Regions from separate parts of the Homo sapiens genome. Here all the other regions are linked to region 2. Evidence: promoter capture Hi-C in human tissues and cell types (Jung and others, 2019). All regions are on one chromosome and are shown on one strand. Each heading gives the region's core, a stretch centred on a gene start or on the middle of the fragment in contact. The rest is flanking DNA. Distances are from core to core; before and after follow the strand shown. Region 1 overlaps NCL (nucleolin). Region 2 holds the start of SPATA3 (spermatogenesis associated 3). Region 3 holds the start of LOC124907997 (a long non-coding RNA gene).

Region 1 (3,300 bases), core at 22-2,521, 460 kb after region 2:
CCTGGGTCCTTGCAACTCCAGCCTGATTGCTCTGCCCTCAATTTCCCTTTTATTACAGGAATTTAAAGCTTCTTTAGCGTCTTCGAATGAAGCAAACTCTATAAATGCATACCTGAGGATGAACAGTTAATGCTTAGAGTAAGTTACCAGGCACATGCTCCTTCACTGTCACATGATGCTGCCAAGCCCCTTCTCTCAAGTTGGTACCTAAATGATGATCTTTATTTTACACTCATTTACGTAGCTAAAATTATTTGGCTTTTCTGACAGGATCACATGACCTTACGTTCCTTTAGACCTCTAAGACATATATAGCCTATAACTGATGATACAAAGGTATTATCTTACCCTTTAGATTTGCCATTTTGGTTCTGGGGTACTTTGATAAAAGTTGCTTTCTCAAATACTTCCTGAAGAGTTTCTTCTGTTGCACTGTAGGAGAGGTTGCTTAAAACCAGAGTTTTTGATTCACCTGCAAATAGAGATGCCACATTCCTAAGACTCTGAAACAGTGGTTCCCAGCTTCGGTCACAACAGTAATATCTTATTCCTAAGAATTTCAGTGCTTGAGTTAATATACAAATACTCATGACGTAAGCTAAATCCATTTCTGTTACTCAACATATTAAGTACCTAGTACGTGTTGCAATGTCCTGCTGGTTGTTCTTACATAGGCTGATGACTGGTCTGTTTTCCTAGAATCATCTGAGTTCAAAACGCACATGGTCAAGTCATTTAAAGTATAAAACATGCCTACAAAGGAAGCTTGATTTGCCTACTGTATTCCAATGCAAAATGATTTTAGAGCTCTCATTCAAGATTGGAAATTACTATTCCAAATAAGAGTATGACTTGGGGTATCATGTCCTTGATCTTCACCTACATTTGAGTAACTTTGATTAAAAAGTATTTATAAACTTATGAAATACAAAGACACAAAGGAGTTCCCTCCACCAATTCTGAAACCTTGTAACAAGCCTAATTTCTTACCACTCCAAGTGCTATTCTTTCCACCTCTATAGTCTTGATTTTGACCTTTCTCTCCAGTATAGTACAGGGAAATAGATCGCCCATCGATCTCTGTTCCCTGCTTTTCTTCAAAGGTTTTCTCTGCATCAGCTTCTGTCTTAAATTCAATATAAGCAATCCTGCAATGGAGGGAGAAGAACTCATGGTTTTTAAAACCATATTAACACAAATGCTTTTACCTCAGCAACACAGAACTTGCTTCAGATCTGAGTACAATAAATGCCCTTAGTTTTATGCCACTTTTCAATCAAAACTCGAGCTTCCCTCTTACTTCCCACTAGTTTTACAAATACTTGGAATTTTTTCATAGTAACCTCACCTCACTGAAAGAACTGCTACTACTTACAAAGTATTTATTGTAAGATAGGCACATTTCTTGCTTCTTTGTAAGTATTAGCTTGTCTTTTAAAATCACCCTATGAGTACATTATCCCCATGGTACAGATGGGTTACTGAGGCACAAACTTACAGGTTAAACTGTCCAAGATTACACGCCTAAGGAAATCAAACCAATATTTCTTTTATAAAGCAGGAAAGTGCATTAATGTTAATAAAACCCTTACATTTCAATAGACAGAACATACCCTTTACTTTTCCCATCCTTGCTGACTAATCTGATCTCCGCAGCATCTTCAAACACTTCTTTCAATTCATCCTGAGTGACTTTGTAAGGGAGATTTTTAGCCAAAAGTGTTCTCGCATCTCGCTCTAGATTAAAAAAACAAAAATGAGCTCTGTGGCCTGAAAAACCAAAGGTGGGGGGCAACAACAAAAAGAGGGGAAAAACACACATAGCTCTATTCAACAAATAATTTGAGATCCTATAATGTACAAGGCTCGGTGCTAAATATGGAGATATAGCAGTGTCAACACACAAGTGGTCCCTCCATGTTGTCACAGCTGATGTCAAACTCTCTGTTAGGTACACTGGAGTTCAACCTAGAGTAGACGCGCATAACAAAAAAAGTGAATGTACCAATTCAAAACATTACAACTGTATATAGGGAGTAATTAGGGACCTAATCTAGTTTCAGTGAAGAAAGATCCCTTTACGTTAATTTAGGTGCATCTAATAATTCTTGTTCTGTATAAAAGTGCTCTTGCTTGCCTAACTCAGGAATTTACACTATAACACTGACAAGCAGTGCCAAGTACTCTTGTAAACACTGTAGCTCATTTAATTCCCACATTAAGAGGAAACCAAAGGAAAAAAATGATTTAAAAAAATAAGAGGAAACCAAGGGAAATGGGTTACAAAGCATTTTCCCTAGCAGTCTAGCTCCTGAGTTCATTGCATAATCTCATAAAGCCTTACATACCTTTCTTACTGTCTTTTCCTTTTGGTTTCTCTAGTTTAATTTCATTGCCAAAGACTTTCAAACCAGTGAGTTCCAACGCTTTCTCCAGGTCTTCAGCAGATTCAAAATCCACATAACCAAATTTCCTTCAAGGTGGAGAGGAGGGCAAAATTACAACAGGTGAAAACACAAATCAAAATCCACAATATGTATTCTAGACAAATGTGATGGTGCAAACAAAGATCACATTTTAAAAAGCACCCCTAGTATTAGCAAAACAAAGTCAAGGCTCTGCAAACTGCAGCTACAGAACAAGGTCTCAGCATGAAGATATGACATGCACATTCACGTTTGAGGTCTTCATCATGGAGCTAAATTGCTTATAAGAATTCACAGTAGCAGCTGACAAAAGAACACCTATAAGCACTAATACAGGAGAATCCTGTCTGGATAAAAGTATTCACTATGATGACTAGACAGGTCTAATAGTTTCAGGTACTTCCAAGAAAATAAACATTATTTTAAATTGAGACGGTGTCTCAATCTGTTGCCCAGGCTGGAGTACAGTGGCGCGAACTTGGCTCACTGCAACCTCTGCCTCCCAGGTTCAAGCGATTCTCCCACCTAACACCAAATTATTAAAACTTACTGGCAGGGTGGCTCACGCCTGTAATCCCAGCACTTCGAGAGGCCGAGGTGGGTGGATCACTTGAGGTCAGGAGTTCAAAACCAGCCTGACCAACATGGTGAAATGCCATCTCAACTAAAAATACAAAAATTAGCCAGGCATGGTGAAGTGCACCCGTAATCCCAGCTACTTGGGAGGCTTAGGCAGGAGAATCGCTTGAACCCGGGAGGCAGAGGTTGCAGTGAGCCAAGATTGCGCCACTGTACTCCAGCCTGAGCAAAAGCCAGCGTCCGTCTCAATACATAACAAAAACAACAAAAAAACTTACTAAAAATTATTCTGTGC
Region 2 (3,069 bases), core at 491-2,990:
CGTCAGGCTGGAGTGCAGTGGCACAATCTCGGCTCACCACAACCTCCGCCTCACAGGTTCAAGTGATTCTCCTGCCTCAGCCTCCTGAGTACCTGGGACTACAGGCGTGCACCACCATGCCCAGCTAATTTTTGTATTTTTAGTAGAGACAGGTTTTCACCATGTTGGTTGGCCAGGATGGTCTCAATCTCTTGACCTCATGATCTGCCCGCCTCAGCCTCCCAAAGTGCTGGGATTATAGGCGTGAGCCACCGCACCAGGCCACTGGGGGACTTTTTAATTCATTATTTCAAAGCCTGTATAATTATCTGACTCCCTATTGTTTTCTGGGATCATGAAAATAATGAGCCCCAAACTGGAATTTAGTCCTTCCGATGCCCCCAGCCAGCTGTGTGACCCTGGGAAAGTAACTTAATTTCGCTAAACCTCAGTGTTCTGAGGAAAGGTCATCATTAAGGTATTTTTAGGCTCTAGAAGCCCTAAACTATGTCCTGTCATTTCAGAGTTCATGTTGGGTCTGGCTTTGTGTGGCCCAAAGCCCCCCATTTTTTTTTAAGACAGAGTCTCGCTCTGTCGCCCAGGCTGGAGTGCAGTGGCACGATCTCGGCTCACTGAAAGCTCCACCTCCAAGGTTCACGCCATTCTCCTGCCGAGTAGCTGGGACTACAGGCACCCACCACCACGCCCGGCTAATTTTTTGTATTTTTAGTAGAGACGGGGTTTCACCATGTCAGCCAGGATGGTCTCAATCTCCTGACCTCGTGATCTGCCCGCCTCAGCCTCCCAAAGTGCTGGGATTACAGGCGTGACCGAAGCCCTTTTTATCTGCATAGGTCTGCTCTAAACCTTCCGCTGGGGCAGGAGCTCCTGCGCTTGCCAGTCCCACACTCACCCACCTGTGACACACTGGCGATGAAAGCAGTCTCCTCAGGTGAACACATTTTATGTTGCAGTCACAGTATGAGCTTCAGATTGTCTTTTAAAAATACTTTTCCTTCTTCCATCCTAAAACAAAAATCACATTTAATGAGCACATTAAATTAATTAATCTAGAGAAAGATTCAGTCACCTGTTTAACCCAACCAATTGGGGTTTGGGAGATAGTCTGTGGTTGCCATTGCCATGAGTTTGAGACAAATGTTAGTTTTCTGAACAGCTGTTATGTTCTCAGGGAAAATTATCTGCCAAATGCAAAGGTTCTTATAAAAGTCAAGTCAACCCCCAAACTCCCCTCCCACAGTGCGGGAGGGCAGGCTTTGGGGGAAGGGGTAAGCTACTCTGAGATGGTAGCAGGCTCTGGGCCATGGTAAAGCCTTCGAAGAAGCTCCAAATCTTCAGGAAGCTGACCTGAAGATGAATGCGTGGGGAACATGGATTTTTGAGGTGTAGGAGTAGGGGGTATGTGGAAGCCAGTGACAGAGCTGAGCGTCACATCCAGGGTATCTTAGAGCAAAACAGGTAGCTCACATGGACCCAGGAACACGCCAGCAGAGAGGTGTCTGAAGGCAGCGCTCAGGTCGCAGAAGCATGAGGATCTGGCTGTCACCAGCCCCGTAGCCAGGGCTGTGAGGACCAGGGCAGCCGCTGTCCCCTGCCTAGCCTGGCAGCCTGGGATGAAGGAGGACACCAGGCTGGTGTCTGCAGAGAAGACTGTCCCTTGAAGCCCTGCCATAGGAGCCACCCTGGCTTTTATGACCTCACAGGAGGTGTGGGTCACTGTTCTCTGTGGGGCCTGGGTCCAGCTGGAGGCCCAAGCCAGGCTCCTAGGGCAGAGGGCAAACGGCCCCTCCAGGAGGGAGCCGGGAGATTACGCAGCTCCATGTAGGTCCACGTTTAGGTTGGGAGGATCTACCATGAAGAAGGTCAAGAAGAAAAGGTCAGAGGCCAGACGCCACCGAGACTCCACCTCCCAGCATGCTAGCTCCAATTCCACCTCTCAGCAGCCTAGCCCTGAATCCACACCACAGCAGCCTAGTCCTGAATCCACACCACAGCAGCCTAGCCCTGAATCCACACCACAGCATTCCAGCCTTGAAACCACCTCCCGGCAGCCAGCATTCCAAGCCCTTCCAGCACCCGAAATCCGCCGCTCCTCTTGCTGCCTTTTATCTCCAGATGCTAACGTGAAGGCAGCCCCTCAATCCAGGAAAGCAGGTGGGCTGTCTTCTAGCTTCAGCAGTTCCAGCCTTCCTGCTGATGGAGTTCTGGGTCATCCCAAAGGCTGGTTCTTGTAGGATAGTGATGCATGGTTAACGTGTATCCTGGAGCTGTGCTGTAGAGTGGGAAGGTTTTTGTTTTTGTTTCTACCCAAGAGACCAGGATTCCTGGGTTTTGTCATTTCTCATCATCCTGAGTCTCACTGAAGACAGCCACACATACATATAAACATTTAACTTGGTTCCATAGTAATACTTGCTCACTAGGAATCAGCAGTGCCATGCAACTGCTAAAAAATAAAAACCAAGGATGCATTTATAGAAGTATATGGTTTAGAATAAGGGAGGTGATGATACTGCTTTATTCTGTCCTCATCAAGCTATCCTTTTGGGCTGTAAAAGATGCCTGACAAACTAGTCCAAGGAAGATAGTCTGGGTTGATGGAGGATGAGAAGGATCAGGGAGACCATTTAGTGTATGACAGTCAATTGAAGGAATTGGAGGATGTCTGTCTGTCAAGTGGAAGATGTGAATAGACTTGTTCCTTATTGTCCTCAGAGATCTAAGGGTCTGATGTGGTTTGGCTGTGTCCCCACCCAAATCTCTTCTTGAATTCCCAGGTGTTGTAGGAAGGACCCAGTGGGAAGTGATTGAATCACGGGGGAGGGTCTTTTCCGTGGTGTTCTCGTGATAGTGAATAAGTTTCATGAGATCTAATGGTTTTAAAAAAGGGAGTTTCCCTGCACAAACTCTCTTCTCTTGTCTGCCGCCATGTGAGATGTGCCTTTCACCTTCCACCATGATTGTGAGGCCTCCCCAGCCACGTGGAACTGTAAGTTCCACAAACCTCTTTCTTTTGTAAATTGCCTAGTCTCAGATATGTCTTTATCAGCAGTGTGAAAACAGACAAAT
Region 3 (3,028 bases), core at 9-2,508, 420 kb after region 2:
CCAATGAGCGATTGAAACTGTGATGGTTGGGGGAGCCCAGCGTTATTAGGGCTGTAAGAAATAAATGTTTCCAGAGAGTTATTTAAGCTATTGTGAAGAAAAACTTTTCTGTTCCAGTGAAACACTATACATTATCTAAAGCACAGCCAGACCTGTCTGCTTCCAGCCCCATTCACGGTCTTTGAGCTATTTTGCACCTCTTTTTAAGTTGCAAGTACTGAGGGCTTTGCAAACTGTCTTGTCAGGTGAAGCTTCCATTGACTTCTCTTCCACCCCCCACCAACACCCCCACGGTGGAAAAACCAGTTTGCCGCTGTTTGCAATTCAATTCCTTCACTCCATATAAATTTGTGCTTTTTGATGTCTCCTTTGAACCAGATATAACATCTACCTTGTCCTTTTTATGAGTAAAATAAATCTTTAATACATGCTCATTTTTTATTTCTGAACAAGGGTCATGAATCTACCTTTTTCTGAAAATTGTCTTTTACCAATTGCCTTTATGTGAAAATGAACACAGATACATTATCGAACAGAATGCAATTTTTGCTTATATTTCTAAAACAAAACTTGAATCTTGGAATACATTGTATACTCACTGAAGACCCTTCCAAAGTGAGCCAAAGCTTAGAGCTCAATCCTTTTAGAGGGTTTTGCCCCCCGGGAATTTGAGAAAATATCTAGTCCAGATCGCAACCAGACAGAATGAATCCGAATGAGTGAGTGGGTGGGGCGCGAGCCCAGGCATTTTTTATCGCTCCCAGGTGACTCAAGTTGGGAACTACCGGCCTGGGCTGGGATTGACTGACCCTGCCGTGCAGCCTGTGACCTATCACAAATCACCTTGGCTTTGTTTTTCCTCGGTGCGGCCGAATCCCACAGGAATGCGTGGAATCCCTGCCCTCACCCATGGCGAAGCTGCCCCCCTCGGGCTCCGCCTGCCCCCCGCGGCTCCTCGTCGCCGGGCAGCCAGGAGCTGCTGGGTGGGCGCGGGCGTCCCGGGGCGCGGTGCGACCCAGAGCCCCTCGCGGAACCCGCCTGGGCTGTGCAGGGGACAACGCGTTCGGCTGTCGAGGGTGGGGGAGCCCTGTGTGTGTGGTGGGGGTGGCATCCGATGGATCCCGGGGGCCTGCGGAGGAGGTGGGCATCTCGGCGCCACCCGGTGCGCGCCCCGAGCGAGGGCATCTCCCCTCGAGACCAGCCCGCGGAGCTGCGCGAGGCGTGGGGTAAGGCGGCGTAGACCTCCCAGTGCCGGCTGCAGGGCCGCGGGTCGGGGCGGGGCCCCGCGAGGAGCAAGGGGCTGGCCGGGCTGGAGGGCTGGGTGAGTCCCCGCCCTGGCAATCCCAGAAGAGGGCAGGGAGCGCCCCCAACTGACCGCCGGGGGCATCGTGACGCTGAGGTGGATGGGAGACTGCACGATTTGAGCAGGTTGTGTGAAATCTGGAACTCCATTACTTGTACCCCAAGGCATCTTTTTTATGCGGATTTAAGCTGGAAAGCGCCACACCAAGCTGTTAACAGGAACTGCTTCCTGGCACTGAGATTCCAGGGGCTGCTCGTTCCTTTCTCTGGCTCATCTGTGTAAGGAAGACTTTCCTCCGTGAGCCTTTCCACCAAGCTCAGGCCTGAGGCTTAGGAGAAATGTGCGAGATCCCGACAGCCTCGGAGGGAGTGAGGGGGCTTCGAGACCCTCAGGGCCACCTTAGGGGCCTCTACCAGGGAAGGAGAAATGATCTTGTTTCACCGGCCAGGGAGGTGAGTGCAGCCCCTTCAGGACCTCAAAAATCCCTACTGGGGGCCCACCCTCAGAGGCCTGGTGAGGTCAGAACTAAGGCCTTGGATAGCAGGATACAGTTTGCTGTTCTAATTGTTTAGTATCTGATCTCATAGACAAATGACACAATAATCATTTTTTCATAAAATCTTAATATATAAAGCCAACGATGGTAAGGATATGTTTGGTTTCAAGTGACATGAGATTCTGCTCAGTTGGGCTTGGTGGCTCGCACCTGTAACCCCAGCACTTTAAGAGGCCTAGATGGGCAGATCGCTTGAGCTCAGGAGTTTGAGACCAGCCTGGCAACATGGTGAAACACCACCTCTACAAAAAAGTACAAAAATCAGCCAGGCATGGTGGCATGAGCACCTGTAGTCCCAGCCACTGAGGGTTGCGGAGGGGAGCTGAGATGGGAGGATCCTGGGAGGTTGAGGTTACAGTGCCCATGCACTCCAGCCTGGGTGACAGAATGAGACCCTGTCTCAAAAAAAATAATAATAATAAAAAGAAGGAAAGAAAAGGAAAAAAGAAAGTCTGCTCGAACTGGTTGCGACCAGCAAGGAGATGTGTGGGCTCACAGAAGTGAAAGTACAGGGATGCCTGCCTCAGGGGCTGATGCAGGACAGAAATATAAAACAGCCACTCCCCATACTGGAGCTGCCTAGCTGGAAAGGGGCAGGTTGAGATTGCTCTCAGGTGGCCTGACTGCAAAAGCTGCATGTTAGCCACCACTCAGACACGTGCTAGGGTCTGGAGGATGGAGGCAAGTCTGGAAACAGCTGCCTGTCCACCATGACTGCCTGCAATTTGTTAAGACCACCTGCAATTTGCTAAGCGCTGATGGGGAGGCCAGGCTCAGCTCAGATAGCTCAGCTCCCGCAGACCTAGTCGAATGTTTCTTGCTAGATTTTATGTATTTTTGTAACCAAATGCTCCCATTTTTTCTAAGAAAAACGGAATGAATTACTTTTTTTTTAATTATTATTTTCTATTCTCTCCCCTTTCCCTCCTTCCCGTTTCCTACTCAGCCCTTCAGAAATGCAAATGTAACCGTTCACCTCCCCCTAGACATTCCCTTCAGGGTAATTCCCTTCAGGGCAATTTCTTCAACGGCTCCAAGACAGATCTTTTCCTTGAGAGCTGACAGTCGATTTGCTGACAGTTGATTTCCAGACTGAAGCGTACCTGCCACGGAACTTTTACCTCCATGGGGTGACCTTAGAACTTCTGCTCTGCAAACTGGAAGTGACC

What was found. The method cuts DNA at HindIII sites, captures the fragments that hold promoters and counts their contacts. A contact is called where the count stands out against the background at its distance.
Region 1: a contact is called between a fragment that was not itself captured here and the fragment with the promoter of SPATA3 in region 2, in 1 of the 25 tissues and cell types used here (lymphoblastoid cells).
Region 3: a contact is called between a fragment that was not itself captured here and the fragment with the promoter of SPATA3 in region 2, in 1 of the 25 tissues and cell types used here (lymphoblastoid cells).

The regions. Positions count from the first base shown.
Region 1 is chr2:231,456,653-231,459,952 of GRCh38, forward strand. NCL (nucleolin) reads right to left here. Exons shown (of 14, transcript NM_005381.3): 7 at 2,349-2,473; 8 at 1,614-1,737; 9 at 991-1,148; 10 at 349-472; 11 at 1-112. Among named protein-coding and RNA genes, the nearest start is that of SNORD20, 1.8 kb to the left of the region's middle. The HindIII fragment of the contact is 5,287 bases long and covers 1-3,300 here.
Region 2 is chr2:230,994,381-230,997,449 of GRCh38, forward strand. SPATA3 (spermatogenesis associated 3) reads left to right here and starts at 1,741. Exons shown (of 5, transcript NM_139073.5): 1 at 1,741-2,154. The coding sequence starts at 1,854. SPATA3-AS1 (SPATA3 antisense RNA 1) reads right to left here and starts at 1,652. Exons shown (of 6, transcript NR_033879.1): 1 at 1,468-1,652; 2 at 897-1,005. RefSeq lists an enhancer at 1,252-1,785. The HindIII fragment of the contact is 25,386 bases long and covers 1-3,069 here.
Region 3 is chr2:231,411,171-231,414,198 of GRCh38, forward strand. It overlaps LOC124907997 (a long non-coding RNA gene), which reads left to right and starts at 1,126. Exons shown (of 2, transcript XR_007088118.1): 1 at 1,126-1,755; 2 at 2,806-3,028. RefSeq lists enhancers at 1-448, 2,543-3,028 and a silencer at 993-1,332. The HindIII fragment of the contact is 6,575 bases long and covers 1-3,028 here.